Regions from separate parts of the Homo sapiens genome. Here all the other regions are linked to region 3. The links are contacts of gene promoters, found by promoter capture Hi-C in blood cells and fetal thymus (Javierre and others, 2016). All regions are on one chromosome and are shown on one strand. The core of a region is centred on a gene start or on the middle of the fragment in contact, and the rest is flanking DNA. Distances in the headings are between cores, read along the strand shown.

Region 1 (7,458 bases), core at 4,918-7,417, 2.1 Mb after region 3:
ATTACAGTGAACAAAGGAAATTACTGAAAAATACACTGCTATTCCATATACAGTACACAAACCATATGACTTTGCTTAATAATATACACAGAAATGATAAACCTTATGAAAAGCAAGACAAATATTAACACATGAGTCCTATGTATGGGTGAAGAAGGGAGACCCAGGTGATCAAGGAAGGGCATATTGTAGCCTTTCAAGACACTCGATGCTAAAGGATGATGACAACAGTGCAATTATTACTCTATAGGATTATGCATTCAGTTTTGTTCGTTTCTTTGTTTGTTTTTGAGGTGGAGTTTCGCTCATGTAGCCCAGGCTAGAGTGCAATGGCGCGATCTCAGCTCACTGCAACTTCCGCCTCCCAGGTTCAAACGACTCTCCCGCCTCAGCCTCCCGAGTAGCTGGGATCACAGGCGCCTGCCATGATGCTCGCTAACTTTTTGTATTTTTTTTAATAGAGACGGGTTTCACCATGTTGGTCAGGCTGGTCTTGAACTCCTGACCTCAGGTGATCCACCCACCTCAGCATCCCAAAGTGCTGGGATTACAGGCATGAGCCACCATGACTAGCCAAGTTTTATAGACTCTTATGTGTCATATATTTCATAATTAAACATAAAAAAAGCATTTACTGTAGTTTGTAAATGAAAGAGCAATAAAAAATGTTGCAAACTTTTAAACATAAAACCTGTCGTATAGCTCATAGTGACCCTCATATTAAGCTGTGGTAAATTCCAAGTGTATTTCATTGTAATTATCTAAAAACTAGGTGAACAGATGAAAAATTGAGTTCAGTTTTAAAACAAGATCGTAGGCCGGGTGCGGTGGCTCACACCTGTAATCCCAGCATTCTGGGAGGCCGAGGCTGAAGGATCACGAGGTCAGGAGATCAAGACCATCCTGGCTAATACAGTGAAACCCCATCTCTGCTAAAAATACAAAAAAATATTAGCCGGGCATGGTGGCAGGTGCCTGTAGTCCCAGCTACTCGGGAGGCTGAGGCAGGAGAATGGCGTGAACCCAGGAGGCGGAGCTTCCAGTGAGCCGAGATCGTACCACTGCACTCCAGCCGGGGTGACAGAGCAAGACTCCGTCTCAAAAATAAAAAATAAAAATAAAAAAATAAAATAAAAAAATAAAACAAGATAGTAAGATAATGTTACTGGTTGAAGGTGTCCAGGTTCTTGGCACCTTGAACAAAGAATTGGACACAACGCACAAATGGAGCAAGGAAAAAATGAAGCAACAGAAGCAGATATTTATGGAAAATGAAAGCACACTCCACAGGGTGGGAGGGCCCGAGCATGGAGAGACCGTTACTGAAGTTTCTGGGGTTTAAATACCCTCTAGAGGTTTCCATTGGTTACTTGGTGTACACTCTATGTAAATAAAGAGGATGAAGTAAAATTACAAAATCATGTACTCGGTGTACGCCCTGTGTAAATGGAGAGGATATTTCCTGTCATAGCCCAAGAGTTTCCATTTGATTTAGTTCTCCGAAGTCAGGGTGAATCGGCCTTATGTTCCTGCCTCCAGACCCTTTTCTCCTGCCTCCGTGGAATGGATGGCAGGACATGGAAAAGTGTTTTGTCCAAATGACATGTCCAAGGGCACTGGCAGCTGAAGGCAAGAGGGAACCAGTTAGTGCCACGGAGGAATGCCCACCCCCGTCTCCACACCGCACAGAACAAAGTGAGTGTCCTTGTCCTGAACCCTCTGAGGTGAGTATCTTGCCTCAGTGCTTTCATGAAACCCTTTTTTGGAGAGACTCATTCTCTCCCCTTCTGTACCTACAAGGCAGCAGGGATAGCCCCTCTCAGGCTGAAGTTCTTCTAACAAAAAAGAGAATAAAATAATAGAATTAATGTAACGAATAGTAAAATAATGAAAATGAAACTTTTTTTTTTACAGAAGCAGCTCTGGAATTTCATTTATTGGCATTAAAAGCAGAAAATGGTCCTATAGAGCTCAATTTAATGGCAAAGATTAAGGAAAGAATAAAGACTCTGCCTAATAATGGTGACATGAGCTGTTCATATTGTCATTTTCTCTGGGACCTAATATGGGGGAGGAGGCGGGACCCCGTGTCGCCAGGCCCCAGGTGATTTTCACACTGTTTCCCCAAATCACTGCAGCCTCTTCCCTGCTGGTCCCTTGATGCTGCTGCTGTGCCTGGCGTCCTGTGGGACAAGAGTGCAACAGGGCGCTGGGCACCTTGGCAGCTTCCAGTGGGATAGGCCTGCGGCATTCTGAGCCTGAATGCGGTGATCACCAGGAAGTAAGGAGACACAAGCAGGAGGGGTTCCAGGATGGAGGGGCCACTTCTCAGGGATCAGTCTCAGGCCCCAGTTGGGAAGGATCCCCTTTCAGGACAATGGCTCCAGGCCAAGGGCAACGCTGTTTCTGTGCGTCCTGATGACTGACCTGCGTCCACAGGGAAGCGTATCTGGGCTCCTTTTTTCCAGGCTGTGTTGGGAGCACCTTGAAATGGGCACTGGTGGATTTCAATTCCAGCCTTCCGGAAGCCATTCCAAATGGAAACTGAGCTAAGGGATGTAGGTGGAGTAAGTAAACAATTTTAGGTCCCAAACAACAGTTTTCAGATACAATATAGTGTGCGGGGAAAATAAAGCTTTGGGACCCCAATTCACAGCCAAAAAGGAAAAAAAAATTAAGCTGGAAGCTGAATCATGCAAGAAACTGCCTTTCCTTTTGTTCCTAAGCAGATAGCTACAGATAAAGGGTTACATATCTCCACAGGAAGCTGGTCTATGTTCACCTTATCTTACGTACAGGGCTGATTTACCACATGTGAGATGAAGACATAGCTGACCATCCCCATCTGCTCTGTTTCTCTTGCAACCTAAGGATGACCACAGGTTCCCTCTTTCCCCTCCAGCCCACCCTTCCCCTCCAGCCCACCCTTCCCCTCCAGTCCACCTTTTCCCTCCAGCCCACCCTTCCCCTCCAGCCCACCCTTCCCCTCCAGCCCACCCTTCCCCTCCAGCCCACCCTTCCCCTCCAGCCCACCCTTCCCCTCCAGTCCACCTTTTCCCTCCAGCCCACCCTTCCCCTCCAGCCCACCCTTCCCCTCCAGCCCACCCTTCCCCTCCAGCCCACCCTTCCCCTCCAGTCCACCTTTTCCCTCCAGCCCACCCTTCCCCTCCAGTCCACCTTTTCCCTCCAGCCCACCCTTCCCCTCCAGCCCACCGGTCCCCTTTAAATACTGAAGCCCTCAAAATCATACTGGGAGGAAGGCACAGACCACAGACTGTTTCTGTGATTCCATGTTTTTTCCTTCCGAGCATGTCCTTAACCTTGGCAGAATTAACTTTTAAATGGATTGAGATTGGTCTCAGGTACCTTTTGGTTTACAATCGCATGCCTCAGCCAGCGCACTGCTCTGTGGCCTTTGTCCTCTTTTACCAAACGAGGAGGGTGGATTCCACAATCCTAAAACCCCTTCAGCTCTCCATAGGTTTCTGGGAGGACACAGTTACCTAAGAGATTAGAGACAGCATCACAAAAATATAAGCAGATGATGTGTGTCAGTTAGGGTTAAGTTTGGCTGCATAAAATGGAAGACTCAAGCTAACAGAGGCTTACACATAGAAAGGTCTGTCCTTTCACATGAAAGGAATCTGAAGGGAGGCAATCCTCCCCTGTGCACTGGATCTGTGATCTTATCAGAGAGCCCAGCTTCTCCTGTCATTCCCTCAGGCACTTTGACTGAAGGTGGTTGTATCTTCTAGATCACCTCATGCCCCAAGATAGCAGCTTTGTTCCTGCAATCACAGCTGCATTCAAAGCAGCAGGAAAAAGAAAAAAAAAAAAAAGCCATACTCAGTAGTTGAACTCCTTTTAAGGAGTCCTTTTGAAAGTCGTGCTCAACAATTCTACTTAAATCACATGGGCCAGAATGGACCCACATGACCACATGCGTGCACAAAGACAGCTGGGGAATGAAGCATTTAGCGCAGAGCCTCAGTCAGAAGAGGAGGAGGAAATGGATGTTGAACCAACTGTTTCTGTCACATGGTGTTTTAGTTGAGCTTGGAAGGATGAGTGGGTTATTCACAGACGTGCTTGGAGAGAGACACAAGCAAGGATCGTTGTGGAAGAAGCATGCCGGGAATTTTCAGGATACAAAGAGTCCCCCCACCACTGCAGAGTCTTCTAGCTAAAAACTCAAGGGCTTCTGAATTATTTCCATACTGTTTCTTTCTAAATTTAGAAGATTTACAATTCAATTATGTATAATGCTAAGACCTTGTCTTCTTGGAGATAATTCAAAAACAAGTCTGTTTTTGTTTGGAAAGAGAAACCTAAGACCCACATGGAGGGGGAGGAAGTTTCTAGCTTCCTGGAACACAATGCTGGAAGGAATTCAGGTGAAATATTCCATGGCCTTCTGACTGCTCTCTGGTGCCTGTTGTGAAGTCTAAAAGCTGTGATGCTCCCAGGGAATGGCTATGTTCTGAAAGCTTTTCCAGGAAAGTATCTTGAGTTGGGCTACATCCTTAGCTCCCTGGTTCTCAGAAAGAGCCTTCTCGAAGTCCAGAGGGCACTTAGATAAGACAGACTACATGGCACTTGAGGTTTCCTCCGTGATTTTCTTCCAGACATCTCTGAGGCATCAGAAGCAAGGGTCAACAACTCAGTGTAATAGAAACTTTTAAATGGATCAAATATTAGGATAGAAGGAGAAACCTTCAAAATTATGCCTATTATTTAGCACTTCATCTGCCACAAAGCAAAACAAAGTATAAACTTCTCACTGCAACTGTGAGAGAAGAGGATACTAAAACATTTTGTCTTAGCCTGTTTTCTGCTTCCCTTAACAGAGTACCTGAGACTGGGTAATTTACAAAAACAGAGATTCACTTCTCACAGTCCTGGAGGTGGGAAGTACAAGGTTAAAGGGTGATCTGGCAAGGACCTTTGTGCTGTGTCATCCCACGGGAAGGTGGGAGGGCAAGAGAGCATGAGGGAGTAAGAGGGGTCAAACTCACTTTTGTAACAGACCCACTCTTGTGATAATGAACCCACTCCCCCAATAACAACATTAATCCGGCCGGGCGTGGTGGCTCACGCCTGTAATCCCAGCACTTTGGAAGGCCGAGGTGGGCAGATCACGAGGTCAGGAGATCAAGACCATCCTGGCTAACACGGTGAAACCCCGCCTCTACTAAAAATACAAAAAAATTAGCCGGGCGTGGTGGTGAGCACTTGTAGTCCCAGCTCCTCTAGAAGCTGAGGCAGGAGAATGGTGTGAACCCAGAAGGCGGAGTTTGCAGTGAGCTGAGATTGCACCACTACACTCCAGCCTGGGCAACAGAGCGAGACTCCATCTCAAAAAAAAAAAGCAAACAAACAAACAAAAAACATTAATCCACTCATGAGGGTGAAACCCTCATGACCTGATCACCTCTTAAATATCCGTCCCCTCAGCACTACTGCATGAGGGGTTCAGTTTCCAACACGTGAAATTTGGGGGACACTTTCAAACCATAGTAAGTAGGAAATGGCAAAAATAAATTACTTATACAGTGTTTATCACTAGTAATAAAGTATGCACAAAACATCATTTATAGTCTATATTCACTATAATATGTTGTGCTCTATTTTCATGTTAATTCATGCAAAAAAAACAAAGAGAAAGATGTTCGAGAGAGGTATTAAGAAACAGCACCATAACCTTTAGAAAAACTAGAAACTGGTAGAAGTCAGTGTTTTAAAAACCTTTTTTATTTGCTGCTTGTTTGGAAGTCAGTGGTGACATTTCAAGGAGGAGTTGTCATTGGGAGGGCAGATTTCAGGAGGCTTTAGTAAGAGTGCGTGGGGAAGACAGGGAAGGAAGGAGGACAGGTGACTTAGAAAGATTCCTGGTGGTGATTGGAAGTGCAGAAATAGAATGGTGACCTCAGGGAGAAGCAATTCAAGGAACGTTGTGCTTTTGCTTCTCTCTGCCTTTCTCCCCATCTCTCTTTCCATCTCTCTCTGCCTCTCACTTTGCCTGTCTCTGTTTCTCCCTCTCTCTCTCTCTCCTGGTTGCTCTGTCTCTCTCTGTCTCTTTTTAAGACTCTGTGTTTGTCTCTGTTTCTCTCTTCCCCTCATCTCTTACTCCATCTTTCTATGTCTGTCTGTGTCTCTGCTTCTCTGACCCTCTCTCTCTCTCTCACTCTCCCTCTTTGTGTGTGTGTGTGTGTGTGTGTGTGTCTCACTCTGTTGGTTTCTCACTCCCACTCTCCATCTCGCAGCTCTCTGGTTTCACTATGCAAGCTGACTCTCCCCACCTGATGATCCAGTGGGATTAGCAGGAAGCGGGTGGACCACCCCCACCACCCACATCCTGTGCCCATCCATGAACTGGGGCACAGGAGAGGACTGATCTCCCTACTTGGCCTGGCTGGACACGCTGACCCTCAGGTCCACAGGCAGTGGAAGGAGCAGTTCCTGGAAGGTGAGAGTGGGTCCTGTGGCAGATGGAAGAGACAAGTATGTTGAGCAACAAAAATGATCAGCACTTGGTCTATGGTAGCAGGAGCTCAGAGGTGAGGAATCTTAGGGCCTTAAACGAGCGGCCCACTGTGGCAAAAACTTTTTTAAACAAAAAAATAGTCAGCCCCTAAGGAGTGTTCCAATGACCACCTCTTAAGCAATACAATTGATCCTTGAACAATGCAGAGATTAGGGGCACCAACCCGCCACACAGTCGAAATTCAGCCAATAACTTTTGACTACCCAAAAACGGATTGACCGTTACCCAAGAATAGCCTATTCTTGGGTAAAAGCCTCAGTGATCACGCAGATAATTGGTTAACACAAATTTTGTATGTTATATGTATTGTATAGTGTATTCTTACAGTAAAGTAAGCTAGAGGAAATAAAGCAATCCTAAGGAAAATGTGTTGACTATTCATTAAGTGCCTCATCATAGAGGTTCTTCTCCTCACCTTTGCATTGAGTAGGCAGAGGAGGAGGATGTGGAAGGAAAGGAGGAGGGGTTGGTCTTGCTGTCTAAGGGGTGGCAGAAGTGAAAAAAATCCATGTGTAAGTAAGTGACCCATGCGGTTCAAACCCTGCTGTTCAAGGGTCAACTGTTTGAACAGGGAAGTTTTGAAGTGACCTCTTTTCTTTTCTTTTTTTTTTTTCCTTGAGACAGGGTCTCACTCTGTTGCCCAGGCTGGAGTGCAGTGGCTCGATCTTGGCTCACTGAAATGGAAGTGACCTCTTTTCAAACAGGGCATGGCCGGGAAAGGGGGAGGAAAATGGCAAAGTCTACCCCACAAACTCAGGACCAAGATCCCTAATTTCTTCCCCTGGTGAGCGAGGCTCCCATTCCCTGGACTACAAAGTCTATTTGGGTTCAAAGACCACCTAGGCTCTGGGCTTGGCCTTCCAAGAGAAGAGGGTACCTGGGCCCTCCCAAGAATGCAGAGCTGTCTGCCCCGG
Region 2 (7,371 bases), core at 2,641-5,140, 2.1 Mb after region 3:
GGTAGTTGGAATGTTCACCATTTGGAGTTAGTTGAGTGAAGAATTCAGGAAATCAGATTGGAAAAAAGCATTATCCAGTTGAGAAGACACATGGACCCATGCAACAAGCATTCTGAAAGAAAAAGCCTACTGCTGCAACACAACGGTATAATTTCCCTTTGTCTGTAACTTTAAAAAAAAAAACTTACATATGAGACGTCCGAGAAAGCCACCCATAGGTGAACTACGCGCATAGGTGAACTAGCTTACTCCATTTATGATGGATTCGGCGATTGCCTAAAAATTCTAGTCAAAACCACCTCTACATATAGAATGATCTCCTACATGGTTAGAAGGCTGGTTATTTTGACACAGCTCAAAACAATTTCGAATAAGTTGAAATGACTTCAGAGCCTGTGGCATGTTCTTAGATGTGATCGAATGACTCAACGTAAAAAATTCTGTCCGACGATGGATCCGATACAGCCAACGAGGAGCTCTAAGGTTCATCTTGTGAGTCAGAGTCAACAAGACAGAGAATGTTACTTTGGCCAAAAAACTGAGATAAGGTTAAAGGTTTTATGCTCTGTTTTTCCTATGTGAGTCATAAAACTGGCTTGGAAGGCAAATTCCAAAAGGGTGTTTTAGGAAACGTCTGGGCTTTGGCTGTAGTAAGATAAATATTCAGCCTTCTAAGAAGACTTCAAAAGAGAAAACTCATCTGAATTTCTACGTTGTAGTACGTTTGGGCAAAATGAGTCTTCCTAATTTAGTAATATCTTCCTTGTTGGTGAAAGACGGCTTAGAACTGCGGCTGGTAGTTGCTTTTCACATGTTCCATGGGCGTCGTGACTTTGCAAATTAAAGAATGAGTCATTTCCTAGCAACTTAGCTCACGCATGCACTAGACAGGGAGCATTGGAGGTGGCACTCAGAAAGCCCTCCCTTTCTATTTTTTAATGGCTTTCTTTGCCACATGCATCTATGCAACACAAAATAATGAAATTACTTTCAGAGAACATTTTACTTTTCAAAATGTTGTGGTTTGCAGAGCAGTTTTCTTACTACTCCAGAAGCAAGAGGATTCGTTAACATGTTTGATTAAATCCGTATTTAAATTCTGTGAACTCATGCAGGGAAAGGAAATTGTATGGTTCCCACTATGGCATATTAACTAGTAAAATGCTGGGTGGCGGTTGACTTGGAAGCAGCGTCCGGGATAGCGCGTGCTCCAGGAATACTCTGAAAGCTGATGCCGTTAGGGGTGCATGGTTGACTCCTGGGCCTGAGACGGCCTCAGGATGCTGCAGCGGCCTTGGCATCCTCTTCAGCAGGGTGGCGGCCGGAACTGGCACCTTCCCCCCGGTCTCTTTATTTACCAAAAAACTGCATGCACAGAAATGACCGCAACAGCTCTGGGTGTGGGAATGTAGGAACTGTCTGTTTCAGTTTTGCCGGAGCCCCAGGTTTACGGCCGCTCTACATCCCAGTCCTCTCAGGGAGGTCCCGGTTTCTGCTGCAGTTCAGGCCCCATCATGGGTCATCTTTTCTCTCCTCCTGAGATGTGGGCTTGGAGGATGGGAGGTCGTGCCTCTAAGAAGGGTCCGTTTCACGGTGGCCCAGGCTACATGCCTGCTTCCTTGTTTCCTTGCCCCCCCGAGCTTCATGGAAGTCAATCTGGAAAGTCAGGATCACTGCAGATGGCAGTTTGTTCAGTGTTGCTCCCAGACCTGAAGAATGGAGCGCTCTGTTGTGCTTGCAGAATGAAGCATAATTCTTAGCAGAAACCTGGGAGGCCGGGTGCGGCGGCTCATGCCTGTAATCCCAGCACTTTGGGAGTCCGAGGCGGGCGGATCACGAGGTCAGGAGATCGAGACCATCCTGGCTAACACGGTGAAACCCCGTCTCTACTAAAAATACAAAAAATTAGCCGGGCGTGGTGGCGGGTGCCTGTAGTCCCAGCTACTAAGGAGGCTGAGGTGGGAGAATGGCAGGAACCCGGGAGGCGGAGCTTGCAATGAGCCAAGATCACGCCACTGCACTCCAGCCTGGGTGACACAGCGAGACTCCGTCTCAAAAAAACAAAAAACAAAAAAACCTGGGAGTTTGGGGTGGTAGAGATCACTGAAACTGCAACCCCAAGGCTAGGTTATCTCTTTATTTATGTATCCACCCACCCGCCTACCTACCTATTGTACTTACAATATTCTGAGGATTATGGCCTCCAAGAGTCATTCATGGCTTTGCACATGACCGTCTGTTACCAGTGAGTCCTTGTGTGGACAGAGCATCCGCAGCAGGACAGAACATAAACGGTGCCTCCCAGGGTGCCCTGTGCAGAGGCGAGGTCTGCATCCGACCTCACACTTGCTCACCCTCGCCCTCCGGGGGACGGCTACACTGGGCTCATCTGCACTGCAAGGGAAATCTGTTTTCAGAGCAAGGGGAGACAATAATAATAATAATAATCCCTAGAGTGAGACTGGGCTGTGTTTAGAAGATGTTCTGCTGTTTTGCCATGGAGGTAGGGGGCCTGGTGATGGGCAGTCCCTGTACCAGCCTGTGAGCCAGGGCCTGGGTGCCTGGGGGGTCTCGGGAGGTGCAGACGGGGCTGCCAGCGCTGAAATGAACCAGCTCTGTTTTGGGTTCTGTTCCATTCCAGACTGTTTTCTCCTTTCTTGTTTATTACATGTATGACACTAAATTATAAACACACATGTGGCCAGGCATGGTGGCTCACGCCTGTAATCCCAGCACTTTGGGAGGCCCAGGCAGGCAGATCACTTGAGGTCAAGAGTTGGAAACCAGCCTGGCCAACATGGTGAAACCCTGTCACTACTTTAAAACAAAAACAAAATTAGCCAGATGTGGTAGTGTGTTCCTGTAATCCCAAGTACTCTGGAGGCTGAGGCAGGAGAATTGCTTGAACCTGGGAGATGTAAGTTGCAGTGAGCCGAGATCGTGCCACTGCACTCCAGCCTGGGCAACAGAGCAAGACTCTGTCTCAAAAATAAAATAAAATAAACACACATATATATATAATATTTCTGGTAGAAATTTATAAATATAAGTATACAAATTGGCCAGCTATCAAGGTGCCTGCACTATTGATTAATTTATATATAGAACTCCATAATCTATGAGTCATTTCAATTTTAAAAACCTTTCTTTTTTCTGTCCTCCGGACCTTCACTAAGGTGGGCTTATGGATCCAACAATAATCTATCATGAACTTTTCTAAATCCTTAATAGTTATTCCTTCTTAAGATTAAATGCTGTGGAAAGTGAGTTATGTAGATGAAGTTACCCGTGGGCATTGCTGCATTTCCTGATCTTGTATATTCCGTGGAGAAAAAGATGGGGATGCATTTAGCATTGAAAGGTAATTGTTGGCCAGGCGCGGTGGCTCACGCCTGTAATTCCAGCACTTTGGGAGGCTGAGGCAGGCGGATCATGAGGTCAGGAGTTTGAGACCAGCATGGCCAACAAGGTGAAGCCCCGTCTCTACTAAAAGCTACAAAAATTAGCCAGGTGCAGTGGCAGGCACCTGTAATCCCAGCTGCTCAGGAGGCTGAGGCAGGAGAATCACTTCAACCCGGGAGGCAGGTTGCAGTGAGCCGAGATCGCGCCACTGCACTCCAGCCTGGGTGACAGAGTGAGACTCCGTCTCAAAAAAAAAAAAAAAAAAGGTAATTGTCCTTGGGCTTCTTCTATCAATGTGTCCTCACATATTGATATCTGATTCCCTAATGCAGCACCGTGTCATTAATGGAGGGTAAGGCAGACAATTATTATTCAGCTGTGCTGTTTAATAATATTCAACATACATCCCAAGTGGCGCAGGGTGCCTTGGCAGGCGGAGCCCCTGACAAAATGCTCCCATGTATGTCCCGTGCTCGACAGTGCTGTGTGCCTGTGAGTTTGTGCTGAAGTATGATAAACACGTTGGGTGAAAGTGACCCCTTTCAACCTCTAGCGAAACACGACCCTTTCAACCTCTCGGGAAACGCTGGGCCATAGGAGAATGGCTTGATTCCTCATTGCACTGTGAGGCTGAGTCTAGGCAGACGTTCCCATTACTAGGGACTCAAGGTGAGGACTTTCCCACAATTCACTGCTTTTATCCAGTGCTGGAACTGCCCTGTCTTCTGACCAGTGGATGCTGAGGAACTGACATTCACTGTCATTTTTCCCGTTTTATATAATTTAAGGATCACTTCCCATTTAGTGAAGTTTATCTCATTTTTAAAAGATTCTCCCTTTCTCCCCTAGGGCTACCAGGGCATGGTGGACGGAGGCTCAAACATCGCAGAGGCCGACTGGGAGAGTGTCTCCAGCATCCTGCAAGTGGTAGGTACTGGGCTGCGTCCACAGGGTTCTCTGAGTTAGAGACTCTTTTATGTCTAGTAAATTCCCAGAACACTTGAGCTCAGATCAGTTGCGAAATAGAGATTATGTGGACAGAACAGACTTTGTGAGCAGCTCTTTACTTGTGGTTTGATTTTTAGAAATGCATGTGTTAATCTGTGAGTCACTTTGAGTACTTGTTAATAGAAATAATCCAAATCGGTGCCTCCCCGCTGAAGACGCTCATGGGGCCCACACCTTCGTGCTGGTCCAGGCTCTCTCTGCATTGGGCGCCTCCTGAGCTCCGACACATCAGAAGAGAGGTGGAGGGAATTTTGACAACCACGGAAGTTAGGTGGAGCAACGTTTGCAAAACATCAGGAGAGTGTGGGCTGAATTCACACAGGGGAGCGTTTCCATTCTGCGGTCGTGATTGACGGAGGAAGATAAGATGTGAACGGAGAGTTGAAGTGCGTATGTGTATCAGTGAGTCTGTGTTTCTGTGTGTGGTGTATGTGGTGTGTGAATCTCGGTGTGTGTGTAACTGTGTGAGTCTGGTGTGTGTCTGTATGTAGGTGTGTGAGTCTGAGTGTGTATGTGTGGTGTGCCCGTGTGTATGTGTTAACTGTGTGAATTTCTGGCTAGCGAATGTGTATCTGTGTGTGGGGTGTGTGTATATGTGGTGTCCTTGTATGTGTAGGTGTGTGGTGTGTGTGTGTGTGTGTGTGTGTGTGTGAAAGAGAGTGAGTGAGAGAATGGGAATGGCACCCACTCCTCTGCAGCCCAGTTATCCTGGTTTCGTTCCTGAGTTGCGGCCACCTCGTCTCTTTGGTTGGAGTTTCTGGGTTGCTGGCTCTAGCTCCCATTGTGCTGGCTCTCGTGCTGCCCCCCAGGTTTTTGTCCAGGCAGAGTCCAGAGAGCACCCCTGCCCTGCTCTGCGCCCCCACCCTCACTTGCCTTGGGGGTTGGGTTGTAAATGGTCTCGGTCACACTTGGTGCCAGTGACGTAGGATCGTGTGGAGTGAATTTCAGTTTTTGTAACCTTTTCATAATGTTTTGATAAATTAAATGGTGGTAGGTTTCATGTAAAAATAGGAGCTTTTCTGGGATTTGGAATATTAGTGAGTCTCTGTGTGTGAAAATGAGCTGTGTGCGTGCACCATTGGTGTATCGAAACACGCACTCACGTCACTGCAGGGGTCTCCTGGGAGCTGCCTGCAGACCGAAGGCAGGGAGAGCTTCGCCTCCAGTGCAGAGACAACCCCTGCTGTGCTTATGAGCACCTTGCTTGACAAAGTCAGCACGCGCTTAGGGATCCCGTACGGATGGAGTTTTTTGGTGCATTCATGGTTTTATTTAAAGAAATCTTGCATTTGTGGATCCCACCAACAATTCTTAGTTTTTGGAAAACCAAGTGTGACGAATCATGATCTATGTCCCCTGGAAGTTTGGATGAAAGAATTTAAGATCCTGAAGATATAGCTCTTTAAAAGGGGCAGCGAGTATGTGGTGCAAAAAAAAAAAAAAAAAAAATCCCCCTGGCCCCAGGTTCCTGCTGGTTTTACTTGCAGGTGCTGTAAGGGGTGACTGGAGGGAGAAGCCTGGCTGCTGGTCACACCGCTTCCCTTGTCCTGGCCGGCATGCTCTGGTGGTCAGTGGGCTTGTCTTTGGTTCCACGTGCACCTGGTTGAGCTCGTTGGCCGGTGCTGAGGCGGCTGCTGTGACACCGCAGGCTGGTTCCTGCTCCATGTATTTAACTGCTGGCTGCCGTGTGTCTGGCTCTGCACCCTCCCTGGCTCCTCCTGGGTGTCACGCGCCTGTCTTTGTCCATGGAATGCTGGTCTGGGACTAAAAACAGGAAAATCACAGTCTTTCATAGCTAGTTACTAACTCACAAGATGAAAATGAGAAAAATGTAAATTCTAGCACCCCATGTTTATAGTCGGCCTGTGTGTGCCATCCACCTGGCGCTCTCTCAGACTGAGAGGAGATAAATTAGCTGGTGTCTTTCCCAGGGCGGGACGATCATTGGCAGTGCGCGGTGCCAGGCCTTCCGCACGCGGGAAGGCCGCCTGAAGGCTGCTTGCAACCTGCTGCAGCGCGGCATCACCAACCTGTGTGTGATCGGCGGGGACGGGAGCCTCACCGGGGCCAACCTCTTCCGGAAGGAGTGGAGTGGGCTGCTGGAGGAGCTGGCCAGGAACGGTGAGTGGACACCTGCTCCTCTGTCCTGCGGGTTTTCGCCCTGTTTCAGAGCTTTGGAACCGACAGGTTTCCCTCTTCACTGTGGCAGAAGTACCTCTTCTCACAGATCTTACAGGTCACCATCTCAGGACTTTTTAGGATCTCAAAAAACAACAGCAATGATCGTAAGAATGCTAGTAATTTAACCTTACCATGTGCCAGGCACCCTTCGACCTTTCACACAGATAGCTTTATGGAATCCTCACGACAGCCATCTAAGCCAGGTTTTAGATCATCCCATTTACAGATGAGGAATCAAACGGCCACTCAGCCGTGGGGCGAGCCGGGTCCCCAGCAGCCTGGGACACTAGCATCCGCCTTTCAGCCCTCACACTGTGTCCCTCCAGCTCGCTGGGGTCCTTTAAAACTGAAGTTGGGCCGGGCGCGGTGGCTCACGCCTGTAATCCCAGCACTTTGGGAGGCCGAGGCGGGCGGATCACGAGGTCAGGAGATCGAGACCATCCCGGCTAAAACGGTGAAACCCCGTCTCTACTAAAAATACAAAAAATTAGCCGGGCGTAGTGGCGGGCGCCTGTAGTCCCAGCTACTTGGGAGGCTGAGGCAGGAGAATGGCGTGAACCCGGGAGGCGGAGCTTGCAGTGAGCCGAGGTCCCGCCACTGCACTCCAGCCTGGGCGACAGAGCGAGACTCTGTCTCAAAAAAAAAAAAAAAAAAAAAAACTGAAGTTGCCACAGGACTTTAATTTATTTAGACGATAAATCTCTGCCAATACATCATCCAGTACCAACTTTGGCACTACTTAGGAAAGCGTTTCTGAGAGCCCTGTGTGTATGTGGTTTA
Region 3 (7,315 bases), core at 3,930-6,429:
CTGAGACGGAAACATTTAATTGTCAAATTCATTCCCCTTTCCTCAGCATAGCTATTGTCAACCTTTACTCCAGGAGTCTGCTCCCTCAATGACCATCCTGAACAGAGGCCCCTGCTGACCTATGGTGAGTATCTTAACCAGCTTGGGCTGCCATAACAAAATACCAGACTGAGTGGCTTAAACAACAGAAAATTTTCTTTTCACAGTTTTGGAGACTGGAAGGTCCAGATCAGGACACCAGCATAGTTGGGTTCTGGTGCAGCCTCTTCCTGGCTTGTGGAAAGCCGCCTTCTCTCTGTGCTCACATGGTCTCTCCTTGGTGCAAGCATGGGGTCGGGGAAGCCTGGGAGCAGCTCTCTGGTGTCTTTTCTCATAAGTGTGCTAATTCCATCAGGAGAGCTCCAGCCTCGTGACCTTTTCTGAACCGAATTACCTCCCCAAGGCTCCATCTCCAAACACCTTAACACTGGGAGACAGGGCTTTCACGTATGAATTTGGGGAGACTTAATTTGGTCCACAGCAGTGGGCGTGGAGCATCAGAGAGAAATAACTGATGCTGAGATTTGGAGACTATTTGTTATCACAGGATAATTTAGACTGTCCAGACACATACATTCTGATAGTGAATACTATTATTTTTATACTTCTATGCTTTTGTGAGGAAATAATATGTTTTTAATTAAAAATAATAGCAGGAAAGGCACTTAGCTTACTATTAGTCTAGAAGTTGGTGGCAGGGCTGGAATTGAAATTTTAAGCCTCCTCCCTCTGGAAAACGGAAATTGCTAAAGCATTATGGTTTCCTTGTGCAGACCTTCAAAATCAATTATTAAACTTGTGACAATGACGTCACATCATCAAAGTGAATTTTTTTCACTGTTTTTAACCTGAGGGTCAGACATCACAACCACCTGCTTAACCAGCTTCCAGAAACACTAAGGATTCAGATGTCTGTTGCAACATGAAACTTGTCTTTGCTTATCTCGAGTATCTTTTTGGGTACAGCACAGAATGCTAATCTTAAGAAATTCTGCCTGCAGATATTTAGAATCATTTGGAAATTGATCATACAAGCATAAGTACATGCATTCCAAATACGTGTATGATTATTATCACAAATCTTCTCTAGGAAAAGAGATCGCAAGATTTCCATTAAACCTAAAATTGTTCCTTTATGGAACAGCAGAATGCAAAGAATGTTTTTAACAGTGTGTCAATAGAATGACTCGTACTCAACCCATAGAAACACCCCTTATCAGCAGCTCTGACGTGAGCAAGGGCAGAAGTTCATTAGCACAGGTGCCTGTCATGATCCACGCACAGGAACGGAATTCTCACAGAAGAAACACAACCTGTCTGCATATGCAAACAGTGCTTTAGTGAAACACAGGTGCTGGGGGATTATTGACAGCATATGACCCCAAGTGCAATCCATCATGTACCTCCATTTAAATACCAAACAATTCATGACCAGCCTGGACAACATGGCGAAATCTCCCCTCTACTAAAAAATACAAAAAGTAGCCAGGTGTGGTGGCATGTACCTGTAGTCCCAGCTACTCGGGAGGCTGAGGCACTTAAATCTGAGAATTGCTTAAACCTGGGAGGTGGAGGTTGCAGTGAGCCAAGATCACACCATTGCACTCCAGCCTAGGCGACAGAGTGAGACCCTGTCTCATAAATAAATAAACAAACAAACAAATACCAAACAAGGTAATAACTCTACAGAGGTCAAGAACAAAGCCACTCTCGGCTGGCAGTGCAAAAGGAGAGTGGCTTTGGAGTTCCATGCGCCCTGAACGCACCTCATTGTGTCTCTCCAGCTGTGTGACGGTGAGCAAGCACTCAACCACCTCAAAGCCAGCACTCTTGTCTGTGAAACAGAGACAATCACACCCACCTCACTATGCTGTCCCGAGAAGAAAGCAAGTGACCTGGCACATGGTGGAGGCTCCCTGCATTGCAGTTGTTAAGGTTCAACGATAATTTAATGAATAGAACAAAAGTTTAGCAAATATTATTGTAACTAAGCAGCTAATAAGAACATAGATAATACATAATGCATAATTAATAATACACAATCTCTTTGCTCACTTATTAATGCCTGTAGAATAGGGTTAGTGAAAAGCTAAAATAATTCACATAAAGTATTTTTAACATGCCTGGTAGATAGTAAGTGAGCAAAGAGTGAAGAAACAGAGGCTTGGGGAAGCTGAGACATTTTCCCAGGATCACAGCGGGTGGAGCTGTATCTCAGAAATGAAGCTCACAGTCTTAACTCACTGTGTAATTCTGCAGAGAATGTCAGGCTGCACCTTTGGCCCGGAGGGTGGCTCTCATGCCATTGCTGCCTTCCACCTAAGGAGGTGTTTCCTTAGACCTCCCTGTTGACAGCTTTCCTCTTTATGGCACAGTGTGGAGTTCTGACCCACTTCAGGGTTGTGCAGAGGGGGTCTGACAGTACTGTAATTCAGTAGGACTACTTGAGTATTGCAGAAGCTTGATTCCAACCGCTACAGCCCCTACATCAGGAACTTACTCAAGCCAACATTCAATCAACGGAGTTCCACAGTCACTGTGAATGCTCTTGGCAGTGCTGCCTGAGGTGAGGGATGGCAAAAAAGTAAGACACAGTTCCTGTCCACGAAGAGCTGGCTACTTCTTTTGGAAACAAGATGTACACAAGGAAGCATCTAGGTACAAAGCAGCATGTGACTCGTTCTGAATGAGTTCCTGTGGGGATCCAGGGAAGTGGCCGACGGGCCCAATGGAGCACTCATAGGACCCTCTAAGACCGGATGCCTACTGATGGCTAATCCCCATGTAAAGGCTCCTTTCAGGCAGGAAGTTCAGTTCTGCAAAATGTACCTTTCATCCATCAGAATTACAGCAACGAGAAGGTAAAACAGAAAAGACCAAACCCACAAAATAAAAAGGTCTGAAAAACAAAGCTTTTTACTGAGAAGTGCCTCGCAGTCAGAAGCTTTGCAGAGTACCCTTGAGAGCATCCTTTACTACAGCTGAGAAGTACCTTTCTGTCACAAGGTACACACTCAGAGGCGTCCTGGCAGCTGGAACCTGCTAATGCAGTCAGGAACTGGCAATGTGCCTCGTACTGCAGGCAGCATTTGCGACACTCCTCAGAAAAGGCCTTTAGAGTTTGGCTTCCCCAGAGAAGCCCAGAAGTGTATGATAAAGAAGCTTGCTCCTAGTGGTGTAGAATACATACTTGCCCCCAAGAAGCTATACTCTGCCACAAAATCACAAGAACAGGCAAGGATGTTGATTCTCATCAACACGCACATGGTGTAAGATGCTTGGTACCTTATCATTGTTATAGCTCTGGGCCCATGATGAGTCATTATGGTTGTGCATTCACAGACATGCCTTTGTAGCTGAACAAGTTAAAAGCAGGTGGCTCATGCCTGTAATCTCTGCACTTTGGGAGGCCAAGGTGGGTGGATCACTTGAGGTCAGGGTTTGAGACCAGCCTGGCTAATATGGTAAAACCCTGTCTCTACTAAAAATACAAAATATTAGCCGGGAGTGGTGGCAGGTGCCTGTAATCCCAGCTACTTGGGAGGCTGAGGCAGGAGAATGGCTTGAACCCTGGAGGCGGAGGTTGCAGTGAGCTGAGATGGCGCCACTGCGCTCCAGCCTGCGCGACAGAGTGAGATTCCGTCTCAAAAAAAAAAAAAAAATTAAAGAAAGGATGTTTGCCCATCTGAAGCAAAGTATTGACTGGACTTATCTAAATACCGGATTACAAGAAAAAGAGGAACTGGCTATATCAGAGTGAGAGAAAGTGGGAGAGGTTGAGGAAACATACAAGAACCTAAAAGAAAGGGCAATAAGTATGAGCATAGCTTTGCTAATCTCGGAAATGGTGGCCAGAACTGTCCTGTGGTTTAGCAAATGATCATAGCCAGCAAATCCTAATTACCCTAGAAGCTTCCTTTAGAAGTGCCACAAAGATGTAGGAGGTATGCTTATCCGCCTTGTGACACAAAAATGGAAGCATAGTTAATAGATGAGAAAAGCATGACCCAGAATGATTTTCAATATTGGAATGCTGGGAATTTATGAGAGGTATTTTCGCGTAAGAATAATAGGACTTGTTTAAAAGGATTGGAGAGTGGGGGGCATCCCAGATGCGTGAGAAGCAGTATAGCTAATGGTTAGAAGCAGGTTTGCTGGAGCCAGGCTGCCTGGGTTCAAAGCCCACCTCTGCTGCCTGTTAGCTTGTCAGCTGCACAACCACGGGGTGCTTTCGAGCCTTGTGTGCCTTTGTTTCCCCATGCACTTCATGAGGCTGTTGCAGAAATTAAACGAGTTAATATATAGTCAGCAGCTCTGAACACTGCTTGACTGAGTCAGCCCTACCTAACGTTTAATTTAAGGGATGTGGCCCTGGGTTCCCAAAGGGAGCGGCCACTCTATTCACAAACATAAAAGCAGTAAAGGCTCCATCCTCATCAACCTTCTCCTCAGTTGGACCCCACAGGACTGTCTCTCGCAACTGTTCCCTGGGCTCTCCTAAGGCACTGCGCGGAACCAGCTGCACCTCTTTTGCCTTAGATCAGGCTTTCCCTTCTCCGCCCGTTTTGGGATTTAACAAGCACGAGAAAGCAGGGCTGCAGGGAAGCCGCGAGGGCCTCCTCACCACGGCCCGGGATCAAGTCCCACGCGCGAGGCCGGGGTAGGGGCGTCATCTGCTCCACACCCAGAGGCTGGGCACGCCCCGCACGCGCGGCTTCCTCCTCCTTTGCGGGGCTCGCCGCGACCCAGGACCCCCAGACTCCCGGATCCCCTAGACCCTCTGGACTCCTAAGCCCCGCAACTCCCAAATCCCAAGACCCCGGACCCTCCAACCCTGGCCCAGGGCGCGTGGCTGGGGGCCTGAACCCGCTCCAGAAACCCGCAGGGCAGTCTGTCGGAAACCCCCGCTTTACTCAGCAGGAATTTAGTCTCCGCGCTCCCCCTAAAACCCGGGCGTCCTCTCCTCTGTACCCTCGCTCCTGAGGCCCTCACACGCCCTCCGTGGCTGACCTCCAAGCCGGGCGGGTGCGCTGTGCGACGCGGAAAGCGCCGTAGAGCACGCAGAACACGATTGGCTGAGCTCCCGGAAGTGACGTACCTCAACCGCCCGACAGTGGAAGTCCCACCTGCGCCCGACGGCGGAAGTTCCGGGAGTGCCAAGTACCCGCGTGCATACGGCTGCCGGCATGGCACATTACAACTTCAAGAAAATTACGGTGGTGCCGTCCGCCAAGGTAGGCGGCCCCGGGAGGGCCACTGCAACTTTCGCGTTCTCCTCAGCTGGGTCCCCGGGGAGGGTCCGGGCCTGTAGCCGTGGGAGAGCGGTCGCCTTCCGCTCGCCCATCCCCCGCTCCTGGGCCTGACCGTCTGGCCGCGTACTCGGGATCATTTCCCCTCCCCCAGCAGAATCCGGGGTCCACCAGAGATCGGATCCCCCAGAGACCGGGGTCCACCTAAGACCGTGGTCCACCCAAAGACTGAGGGCCCCCAGAGATGGGGGTACACCCAGAGTTGGGTTCCCTGGAGGGGCCCCGGGTGACGATGTGGGCGAGTGGAGGGGGACCCCGACATGTGAGGGAGGAAGCGTTCCGTGGTCCGTGATGAGCCTTCGGATTCTGGGTTTGGCGTAGCCCCCTCCCCTCTCAGGAATCCTGGGTTCGTTGTTCTCGTGATTTAACGTTTCATAATTTTTAAGTCATTCTCTTTCACTGTTAGATTTGGGAATACCTGTTCCTTTTCAGACCATAGTAGGCCCAGACTAAATTTTTACAGCGTTGGTTGGTGTGGCAAGAATGAGTCAACAAGTGTTGAGTATTAGGACTTTTTTTTTTTTTTTTTTTTTTTGAGACATAGTTTTTCGCTCTTGTTTCCCAGGCTGGAGCGCAGTCTCGGCTCACTGCAACCTCCACCTCCCGCGTTCAAGCGATTCTCCTGCTTCAGCCTCCCGAGTAACAGGGATTACAGTCGTGCACCACCACACCCAGCTAATTTTCGTATTTTTAGTAGAGACGGGGTTTCACCACGTTGGCCAAGCTGGCCTCGAACTCCTGATCCCGGGTGATCCTCCCGCCCCGGCCTCCCAAAGTGCTGGAATTACAGGCGTGAGCCACTGCGCCCGGCCCTAGTATTAGGACTTTTAAGAAGTCACGTTTTTATGTAGTGAACATTCGATTTGGGTCGCAATTACACAGACATTGACGGGCAACTGGAGCCTCCCAGGGACTCCTGCACGAGAGGGAGTTACTGAAGTCCCTGCAGAGTGACTGTTTTCCCCTCGTCAGTGCCTCCTTTTCTTCAGGTCTCAAGGACGGGATGAGCTTGCCTTGGAAAGCTTTGTGGGAGTCTCGTATTTTACCTTCATAGCAAAAGTTGTTTCCCCACTTCTCTCCACCATTTCTTATTTCTTCCTGACAGTTGTTCTGGCACATCTCTTGATCGATTGTAGTATTTTCTTTCTTTCTTTTTGAGATGGAGTCTCGCTCTGTTGGCCAGGTTGGAGCGCAGTGGTGTGATCCTGACTGCAGCCACCGCCTCCCAGGTTCAAGTGATTTTCCTGCCTCAGCCTCCCGAGTAGCTGGGACTACAGGCATGCGCCACCAGGCCTGGCTAATTTTTGTATTTTCAGTAGAAGTGGAGTTTCACCATGTTGGCCAGACTGGTCTTGAACTCCTAATCTCAAGTGATTCACTTGCCTCAGCCTCCCAAAGTGTTAGGATTACAGGCATGAGCTACTGTGCCCAGCCAGATTGTAGTATTTTCGAGTGCAGGAGTCATGTCTTATTTGTATTTTTGGTCAACCATCTCTCAGGTTTGTTGAAGGAATTTGCTCTTTGGATTATATGAACTTTGTTCATGTTATTGACTTATGTGGAGAACTTTAGAATATATTATACACCATCCGTCTTCTGTTCTGTGGAGTGAGATTTATATTTTTAGAGAACAGATGACTTATCTAAAAACTGGGTGATGGTAATTGTTTGGTGATTGGAAGTAAAAAAAAAAAATCACATCGGGAAAGTGTGGTATTCAGTTCATTCTAGAAGATGTTGAGTGAGTGCCTGTCCTGTGCATCGGGTACTGTGTTACAAAAATGCATTAGATAAAATACCTGCCTCTTTGGAAGTCATTTTCAAGAGAGGTAAGTCGAGGCCGGGTGCGGTGGCTCTCGCCTGTAATCCCAGCACTTTGGGAGGCTGAGGCGGGCAAATCACGAGGTCAGGAGATCGAGACCATCCTGGCTAACACGGTGAAACCCCGTCTCTACTAAAAATACAGA
Region 4 (7,975 bases), core at 4,578-7,077, 2.1 Mb after region 3:
TTAGAGAGTAGCTGCCCAAAGGCTACAGTTTCCCTCCCCACTCCTCGGTTCTCTCCGTCTTCACCCCCAACTCCCAGTCCTGTGTTTGGAATTACAGTCATTGTGCTTGTCAGGATGTAAGAGGCAGCCAGACACATGGCAGACCAGAGCACTGAGAGGCAGAGACATTTATAGGTCCTAGCCCTGGTCCTGCTGTCTGGGTCAGCAGGGTGCTGAGTGCTGAGTGCTGAGATAGGGTCTTGATGTTTTCCTCTGCAGAATGGAGGCATCACTCAGTCTCTGTCTCCTCTCCCTGTCTCTGTCTTCCCTCCCCTCTTCCCTAACACATATCCACAGTGAAAGTGTTCAGGAGGAAAAGAGAATAGGCTGGACTGTGCTGGGACCCCCAACCCCAGGGCCCGTGTGCTATTTTCCCAGCCTCCGTGTGCCCAGAGATGCCTAGGGGAGCCTGCGGAGGTGTAGATCCTGACTGTGTGGGTCTGAGTGAGGCTCCGACTCTCACGGGGAGGGCACCGGTGCTGCTGGACCCCCTGGGGCCAGTGGAGCGGTTTGCAAATCGGGCAGATCAGCTTCTCCACTTCTCCAGGTTTCCCCAATGTGAGATGCTCCCAGGAGTCCCATGGGATTGTTTTCTGACTTTGACCAGGATTTTGACAGAGAAGATTCATTAATATAGGACCCCTTGTCTAAACGTACATATGTAAATGATCTGATCCGAAGTTTCCTGAATGGAAAATGATTGAAAGGGTGGCATGCAGTAGCCTCGGGGAGTCAGTCCTTCATATCTTTTCAGCTGTGTCTTACTACGATTAAGATTTTATTTCTGTGTGTGTGTGTGTTTTTTTTGTTTGTTTGTTTGTTTGTTTTTGAGACGGGATCTTGCCCTCTTGCCCAGCCTGGAGTGCAGTGGCTTGATGTCGGCTCACTGCAACCTCCGCCTCCTGAGTTCAAGCGATTTTCCTGTCCCAGCCTCCCAAGTAGCTGGGATTACAGGCATGCGCCACCATGCTCACCTGATCTTTTTTGTATCGTTAGTAGAGATGGGTTTCACCGTGTTGGTCAGGCTGGTCTCGAACTCCTGACCTCAAGTGATCCACCTGCCTTGGCCTCCCAAAGTGCTGGTATTACAGGCTGGAGCCACTGCACCCAGCCTTATTTCTGTGTTTCTGTAATCATTGTGCATGTTAACAGACTGCCTTGGGTGAGTCAGGACAGGATTTTGGCAAAAGAACCAGGCCCTTTCTGCCTGGAGCTGTCACTCCTGTGGTGAGGTGCGGGTACGACGTGCCTGTAGCCTGACCTGAGAGGAAAAGCTCCTGTCTTATGAAAGGGCCCAGGGGAACCTCTGGTTGGGGCCCTTTGACCTGACCTGACAGTGAGGGAGGAGTCCGTAGAGGAGAGTGGCCCAGTGGAGGACTTTGGCTTTGCCTTGGGTGAACTGGGAAGCAGGTGGAGGGAAGCAGACTGACTGTCTCCGATAAGGGTGGCTTTGTGGAGAGGAGAGGAGGGGAGGGGAGGCCACAAGTTTAGGGTATCACAAGGAGCAGGCCACAGATGGAAGGTTATGGGGTGGGGCACGTGGCAGGGCAGCCCTGTGTCCACAGACACATCCCGCCAAGGGGACCCAGAGACTTGAGTGTGTCAGGGCTTGGGGTGAATGGGCACTCAGCTGTTACAGCTGGAAGGTAGAGCATGTGAGCTCCAACAGACACAGGCAGGTGGGGGTTAAAGGAGAATCTTCATAGCAGTGCTTAGAATAGCAAAAAGTGGGAAAACCAGCAAAAAACTATCAATAGGAGATTAATTAATTCCATTATGGCACCTGGAATGTGCCGAGACCAGCTCAGTCGGGGAGACCGTAACCCAGCGGCGCTAGAGGAATTAAAGACACACACACACAAATAGAGGTGTGAAGTGGGAAATCCGTGGTCTCACAGCCTTCAGAGCCGAGAGCCCAGAACAGAGATTTACCCACGTGTTTATTAACAGCAAGCCAGTCATCAGCATTGTTTCTACAGATATCAAATTAACTAAAAGTATCCCTTATGGGAAATGAAGGGATGGGCCAAATTAAAGGAATAGGTTGGGCTAGTTAACTGCAGCAGGAGCATGTCCTTAAGGCACATATCTCATGCTACTGCTTGTGGCTTAAGAATGCCTTTAAGCAGTTTTCCACCCTGGGTGGGCCAGGTGCTCCTTGCCCTCATTCCCATAAACCCACAACCTTCCAGCCTGGGCGTTAGGGCCGTTATGAACGTGTCACAGTGCTGCAGAGATTTTGTTTATGGCCAGTTTTAGGGTCAGTTTATGGCCAGATTTGGGGGGGCCTGCTCCCAACAGAATGGAAGGAATTTTTGTCAGCGTTTAATAAGGAGCTTTGTGCTGGTCGAAAGTCAAGAGGTACACAGTATACTCAAGGGCAGTATTGAAGAGCCGATTCCAGAGCGGCTTCCCTCTGGAGCCAGTGGGGCAGTTTGCAAATCCAGGCAGATCAGCTTCTTGGAGGTTTCTCCAACGGGAGAATCTCCCAAGAGTGAGGCTTGCATGTGGGTGGCCTGTGTTATATATGCAATTTTAAATGATCTAGTTGCCGCATTAAAGAAAGGCGGGGCAGGGGGCCGGGAGTGGGGGACTCTGGGTGCCAAGACTCAACATCTGTAATCCCAGCCCTTCAGGAGCCCAAGGCAGGTGGATCACTTGAGCCCAGGAGTTTGAGGCCAGCCTGGGCAACATGGCAAGACCTAGTCTCTACAAAAAATACAAAACAATTAGTCAGGCGTGGCGGTGCACACCTACAGTCCCAGCCCCGTGGGAGATTGAGGTGGGAGGATTGCCTGAGCCCAGGAGTTGGAGGCCGCAGTGAGCTGTGACTGCACCAGTTCACTCCAGCCTGGGCAACAGAGTGAGACCCTATCGCAAAAAAAAAAAAAAAAAAAAGTAGTGAACCCGGGAAGCGGAGCTTGCAGTGAGCCGAGATCGCGCCACTGCAGTCCGCAGTCCGGCCTGGGCGACAGAGCGAGACTCCGTCTCAAAAAAAAAAAAAAAAAAAAAAAGTAAAAACCGGTAAAAGCAAAAAACTATGTTTTATATTCAATCCACTATTTTGATAACAATCAATTATTGTAGATTATTCATATTTTACACTGTTTTCCGTAGTAAGTCTTTGAAACCCAGTGTGTAAAGAAGCTTAAAGCACATCTCCATGTGGACGGGACGCACGTGGCCAGCGGCTCCTCTGAGGGACAGTGTGGTCACGCAATGGGTGGCGTGTGCTGCCTGTATTTAGAAGGTCCCCATGTGGGTGTTTTTGCGAAGGCTCTGAGGGATGTGCAGGGGAGGGCCGACACTGTCCCAGCCACGCAGAGGACCCTGGAATGCAGCATGCTGCCGCCGCGCCCCCGCCCCAGCCCCTCTGCTACCTGAGCTCTTTCCCAGATGTCCATTTGGCTAAACTCCCTCAACTTCTTCCCTTTCCTTCTTTCTCCAAACGTCACTCTCAGGCAGGTCTGCAGGCTCTCCGATTGTCAATGGCAGCCCCTCCCTGTCCTCCACACCCTCAACACCCCCCACCCCGCTTGTTATTTTTCTCCTTAGCACTTACGGCCATCCATCCATGGGCATCATGCATTTGTTCACTGTGTTTCTTGCTTTCGGGTCTCTCCTGATCGGAACAAGCTCTTCCAGGGCCAGAGGCTTCCCATCTTGTCACTGATGCATCCACACAGAGCCCAGCAGAGGTGGCACTTGGGGCACCCGAGCTGGACAGTGGGTTGGTGGTTGAGTGAAGAGCCCTACAGATTTATCTCAAGCCCTCCCCTGACCCTACTAGAAGACACGGTGGTCTGCACAGTCCAGGAGGTCAGAGAGGCCCCCCAGTTCGATGACTTTGAACTGGCAGGGGTGGGGAGGGAACAGCACCTTGACAGAATCTGCCTTTGGCATCCCACCTCCCCATGCCTACATAATCCCTACATTATCAAAGGAAAGACCCCTAGAAGGAACTTTGGCAGCAGTAGTGAGATCAGCGCGGTGTAAGCTCATTTTCTAACAAAGCAGCGGGAGGAGTCGGCAAACTGACTTTATTTCTCAAAAAGAATTTATGCATTGAAATTAACAAGTGAGTGATCAGGAGTGTGGGAAAATTCAGGAAAAGTGGCTCAGTGCTGTGAGAGAGGGCGAGGCAGGGAGCTTTATTACTCCAGACAATGGAGGAGGTAAAAGATAGACCCAGATTATTTCATTAGAGTTCATCTATTCTTTACTTTTTTTTTTTCTTTTTTTTTTTTTTTTTTTGAGATGGAATCTCACTCTGTCACCAGGCTGGAGTGTAGTGGCGCAATCTCGGCTCACTGCAACCTCCACCTCCCGGGTTCAAGCGATTCTCCTGCCTCAGCCTCCCAAGTAGCTGGGACTGCAGGCGCTCACCACCATGCCCGGCTAATTTTTTTTTTTGTATTTTTAGTAGAGATGGGGTTTCACCCTGTTAGCCAGGATGGTCTCGATCTCCTGACCTCGTGATCCGCCCACCTTGGCCTCCCAAAGTGCTGGGATTACAGGCATGAGGCATCGTGCCTGGCCTATTCCTTACTTTTTAAAAAAAAAATGCAATTTAGATTTTATCAGAGCAGAATCCCAGGAAACTGAGATTTGTAAACTGGGAAATCCAGCTCCTCCAAGTAGCCAGGAAATAAGGGTGACTTAAGTCATGCTTGCTAGGCCCTGGTGTAGGCCAAGGATGACTCTGACTCAAGGAAGAAACCGTCCTGTGACTCTCTTACCTGCATTGTGGTTTAGTAAGAAGCTGTTAAAAAGTACGGCATATGAAGAAAGCGATTTAATAATTGGTCAGAGTAATGACCAGATCTTTCCTATGAAACCGCTCCCTCATTATCTCCAACTTTATTTTTGGTTCTCATGACAAGATATTCACTTCCCTGAAAACTGGGATTTTTGCAAATTACGAAGCGGTGTTTTTCCAAATGTTAAGGTTCTTCTTTGGTAGGAAGATGTTATTTTCTCCTGGAAATCCTTGGGTTGGGCTCCCAAAACCAAAACAAAACCAGATGGATTAGCCCCAGGATGCCTGAGCTATTTGGACAATCTGTGGCTTGAGTGTTGAGTGAAAGACTCTGAAACTGCCCTTTGTCCCTTAATGGCTGTGTGCCAGGGCCCACGGACAGCCCTAAGGAAATGGTGAAACAGGTGACTTTTACCTGTGACGCCAAAAGCCCACGTTGCGGGCTGTGAAAGCCCTCATTGCAGGTGTGCACGTCTGCCTGCATTGCAGGTGTGCACGTCTTCGTCCCTGTCCTGTGGGTGACAGCCCGCCAGTAAATGCTGGTATATTTCCCCCTTGCTTTTCATCCACCAGTGTTCTTCTCCCTCCAAACCCCTCACTGAATGTTCCTGGGGCTTCCTCAGGTTTCATCTTGCAGGGCCCAGCAGGAGGCAGCTGACTTGCAGTCCTCACTGTTCAGAAGTTCAGAGGGAGGGCTTAGAACTAAACAGTCTCCACTCCCAGGCAATTAAATGAGCATCTGGCCTCAGCAGGTATTATTTTCCTTCAAGTTCCCATTGGTGACTCTGAGGCACAGGCATTGTAATAGAGGAAATTAGGAAGGCTTGAAAGTTAAAATGAAATAAGACTAGGGTTTACACTACAGCTTCACCGCTTACTAATGTTGTTACCTTCCAGTAATCAGTTTATCCCCCTAAGAGCCTCAGCTTTCTCATCCCTCCAGGGAGGTGTCAGGAGCTCTGCAGGCTTCCTGTGAGAAACATCCAGGCCAGGGCTCTGGCTGTGGGTCTGCAGTCAGCAAGGGACGTCCTACTGGGCCCCACCGAGTGCTGCCAGTCCCTGAGCTCAAGGAGGACACATGAATAAAAGCCCTTTGCAATGCATGGCTCCATCCTACCAATGCATAAATTAATAGAAGTCCTTTCAGGACCTAGAATTGTGTCTCTTTAAAAGTGTGGTGCCCCCATCACCTGGAAATTGCTAGAAATGCAAGTTCCCAGGCTCCCTCTCCACCTGTGAAACCCGGGGGCAGCCCAGCTACATGGGGGTGCTGCGGCCGCTGATGGTGAGCTCCTGCTGTGGGGTGGTGTCACTGTTCTTTCCAGGTGGGTGCAGGTGAACCCGGAGTGGGGGTGGGGAGAATCCAGCAGGGACTTCAGCGATTGAGTTTAGTGCTGGGGTGCATTTTTACTCTGCACAGGAGTCTCCTGGGGTCACCTTGTGTATCATGTCCAGCTTTTTTTTTCTGAGACAGAGTCTCGCTCTGTCGCCCAGGCTGGAGTGCAGTGGCATGATCTCAGCTCACTGCAAGCTCCACCTCCCGGGTTCACGCCATTCTCCTGCCTCAGCCTCCCGAGTAGCTGGGACTACAGGTGCCCGCCACCACGCCTGGCTAATTTTTTGTATTTTTAGTAGAGACGGGGTTTCACCATGTTAGCCAGGATGGTCTCGATCTCCTGACCTCGTGATCTGCCCACCTAGGCCTCCCAAAGCACTGGGATTACAGGCGTGAGCCACCGTGCCCAGCCTCATGTCCAGCTTTTAAGAATTTTATTCCTTCTTCTATGTCTTTCCACTTAACATTTCCTAAAATCCCCGAGTTCTTCATCATTCCTTTATGAAAGACCGGTGGGAACGAGGTCTTCAGAGAGCGGGGTGGGGGGGGGGGGAAGAGGAGCAGGGGTGAGGGGCCGCCATTGGGTCTTAGTTGTGCTCCTGCATCACCTGCTTCCTAGTGTTGGCACGGGCTGTGTTTGATGGGTAATTCATCCATTAGAGTGACCATAGCGTAAGGTCCTGGAACCAGAGCTGTGCGTCCACCCTTCGAGTTGAAGAGTCCAGGCACTGCTGAGCCCAGCCATGGGAGAGATGAGCGAGGACCTTCCACAGGTGTGAGGCCAAGGGGGCGGGAGGCTCTGTCCTGCCAGGAATAAATGGAATCAGGTGGGAGGCTCTGTCCTGCCACGAATAAATGGAATCAGGTGGGAGGCAAGCCAGGCCCTTTTCCTGGGAGGTGCCAGAGCCGAGGAGGAGTTGGAGGAGGAAGAGCGTCCGAGCAAGAGCACTGGTGGGACTGCTACCAAGGTTCAGGAACAGGAGCCTCCGAGTGCTGCCAGACAGGTGGGAGGTCCCTGGGGCATGGCCGGGAGCTCAGGGGAACTTGGGTTTTCTTCCAGTAGCCCTGGGAACCTGGAGGAACGCGGTCATATTCGTGCTTTAGAAGAGAACATTGCCGGGTGCAGTGGCTCAAGCCTGTAATCTCAGCACTTTGGGAGGCTGAGGCGGATGGATCACAAGGTCAGGAGATGGAGACCATCCTGGCTAACACGGTGAAACCCCGTCTCTACTAAAAATACAAAAAATTAGCCAGGCGTGGTGGCGGGCGCCTGTAGTCCCAGCTGCTCAGGAGGCTGAGGCAGGAGAATGGCGTGAACCTGGGAGGCGGAGCTTGCAGTGAGCCGAGATTGCACCACTGCACTCCAGCCTGGGAGACAGAGCGAGACTCCGTCTCAAAAAAAAAAAAAAAAAAAAAAAAGAGAATATTGAAACTGGTATGGAAAACATCTCGGACGTAGTGTCAAAGTGTAGAAAGAAATAACAAGTGTGAAACTCGCACAGCCCAACAGCAAGGCACCGTCCCCATACCCAGCTCTCCAACGGGGTGGGGCTCTTGTGGCTGTTACTTCATTTGTTTTTTTTCTAAACAAGAAGAATATATTCATAAATTATTTGCATAAAAGCAAATGAAAGAGAAAAAGCTGTTGTAATCCTTCTGGCCACAGTGTGGCTCATGTCAGAGGGAGTCAGGGAGTCGGGGGTAATGTTGGGAGCAGGTGTTGGTTGTATGGGCAGGAGCCAGCAAGGGTGTTAGCAGCATTCAGCGCCAGAGACAGAGAAGAAAGTTGTGCTGTTCGGCAAGAGAGAGGTTACAGCGGGAGGAGGAAATGATCAGGGTGA

Evidence for each region. Contacts are between HindIII fragments. The CHiCAGO score rates a contact against its expected background, and 5 or more counts as called.
Region 1: a contact is called between a fragment that was not itself captured here and the fragment with the promoter of GTPBP4 in region 3, in 1 of 17 cell types (endothelial precursors). The highest score is 7.6, in endothelial precursors.
Region 2: a fragment that was not itself captured here is called in contact with the fragment with the promoter of GTPBP4 in region 3 in 2 of 17 cell types (erythroblasts and M1 macrophages); the score reaches 10.6 in erythroblasts.
Region 4: a contact is called between a fragment that was not itself captured here and the fragment with the promoter of GTPBP4 in region 3, in 1 of 17 cell types (M2 macrophages). The highest score is 5.1, in M2 macrophages.

Annotation. Positions count from the first base shown.
Region 1 is chr10:3,050,594-3,058,051 of GRCh38, forward strand. PFKP-DT (PFKP divergent transcript) reads right to left here. Exons shown (of 4, transcript NR_160681.1): 3 at 3,367-3,503; 4 at 1,901-2,549. Among named protein-coding and RNA genes, the nearest start is that of PFKP-DT, 13 kb to the right of the region's middle. The HindIII fragment of the contact is 3,364 bases long and covers 4,486-7,458 here.
Region 2 is chr10:3,095,024-3,102,394 of GRCh38, forward strand. It overlaps PFKP (phosphofructokinase, platelet), which reads left to right. Exons shown (of 22, transcript NM_002627.5): 3 at 4,252-4,329; 4 at 6,342-6,531. Among named protein-coding and RNA genes, the nearest start is that of PFKP, 31 kb to the left of the region's middle. RefSeq lists an enhancer at 128-1,327. The HindIII fragment of the contact is 8,096 bases long and covers 1-7,371 here.
Region 3 is chr10:983,255-990,569 of GRCh38, forward strand. It overlaps GTPBP4 (GTP binding protein 4), which reads left to right and starts at 5,180. Exons shown (of 17, transcript NM_012341.3): 1 at 5,180-5,273. The coding sequence starts at 5,226. It also overlaps a transcript of LARP4B not described here. RefSeq lists an enhancer at 6,927-7,315. The HindIII fragment of the contact is 2,419 bases long and covers 3,950-6,368 here.
Region 4 is chr10:3,072,988-3,080,962 of GRCh38, forward strand. The region is part of intron 1 of PFKP (phosphofructokinase, platelet); the gene reads left to right. Among named protein-coding and RNA genes, the nearest start is that of PFKP, 9.4 kb to the left of the region's middle. RefSeq lists enhancers at 462-963, 3,170-3,734, 3,735-4,298, 4,752-5,687. The HindIII fragment of the contact is 5,287 bases long and covers 3,185-7,975 here.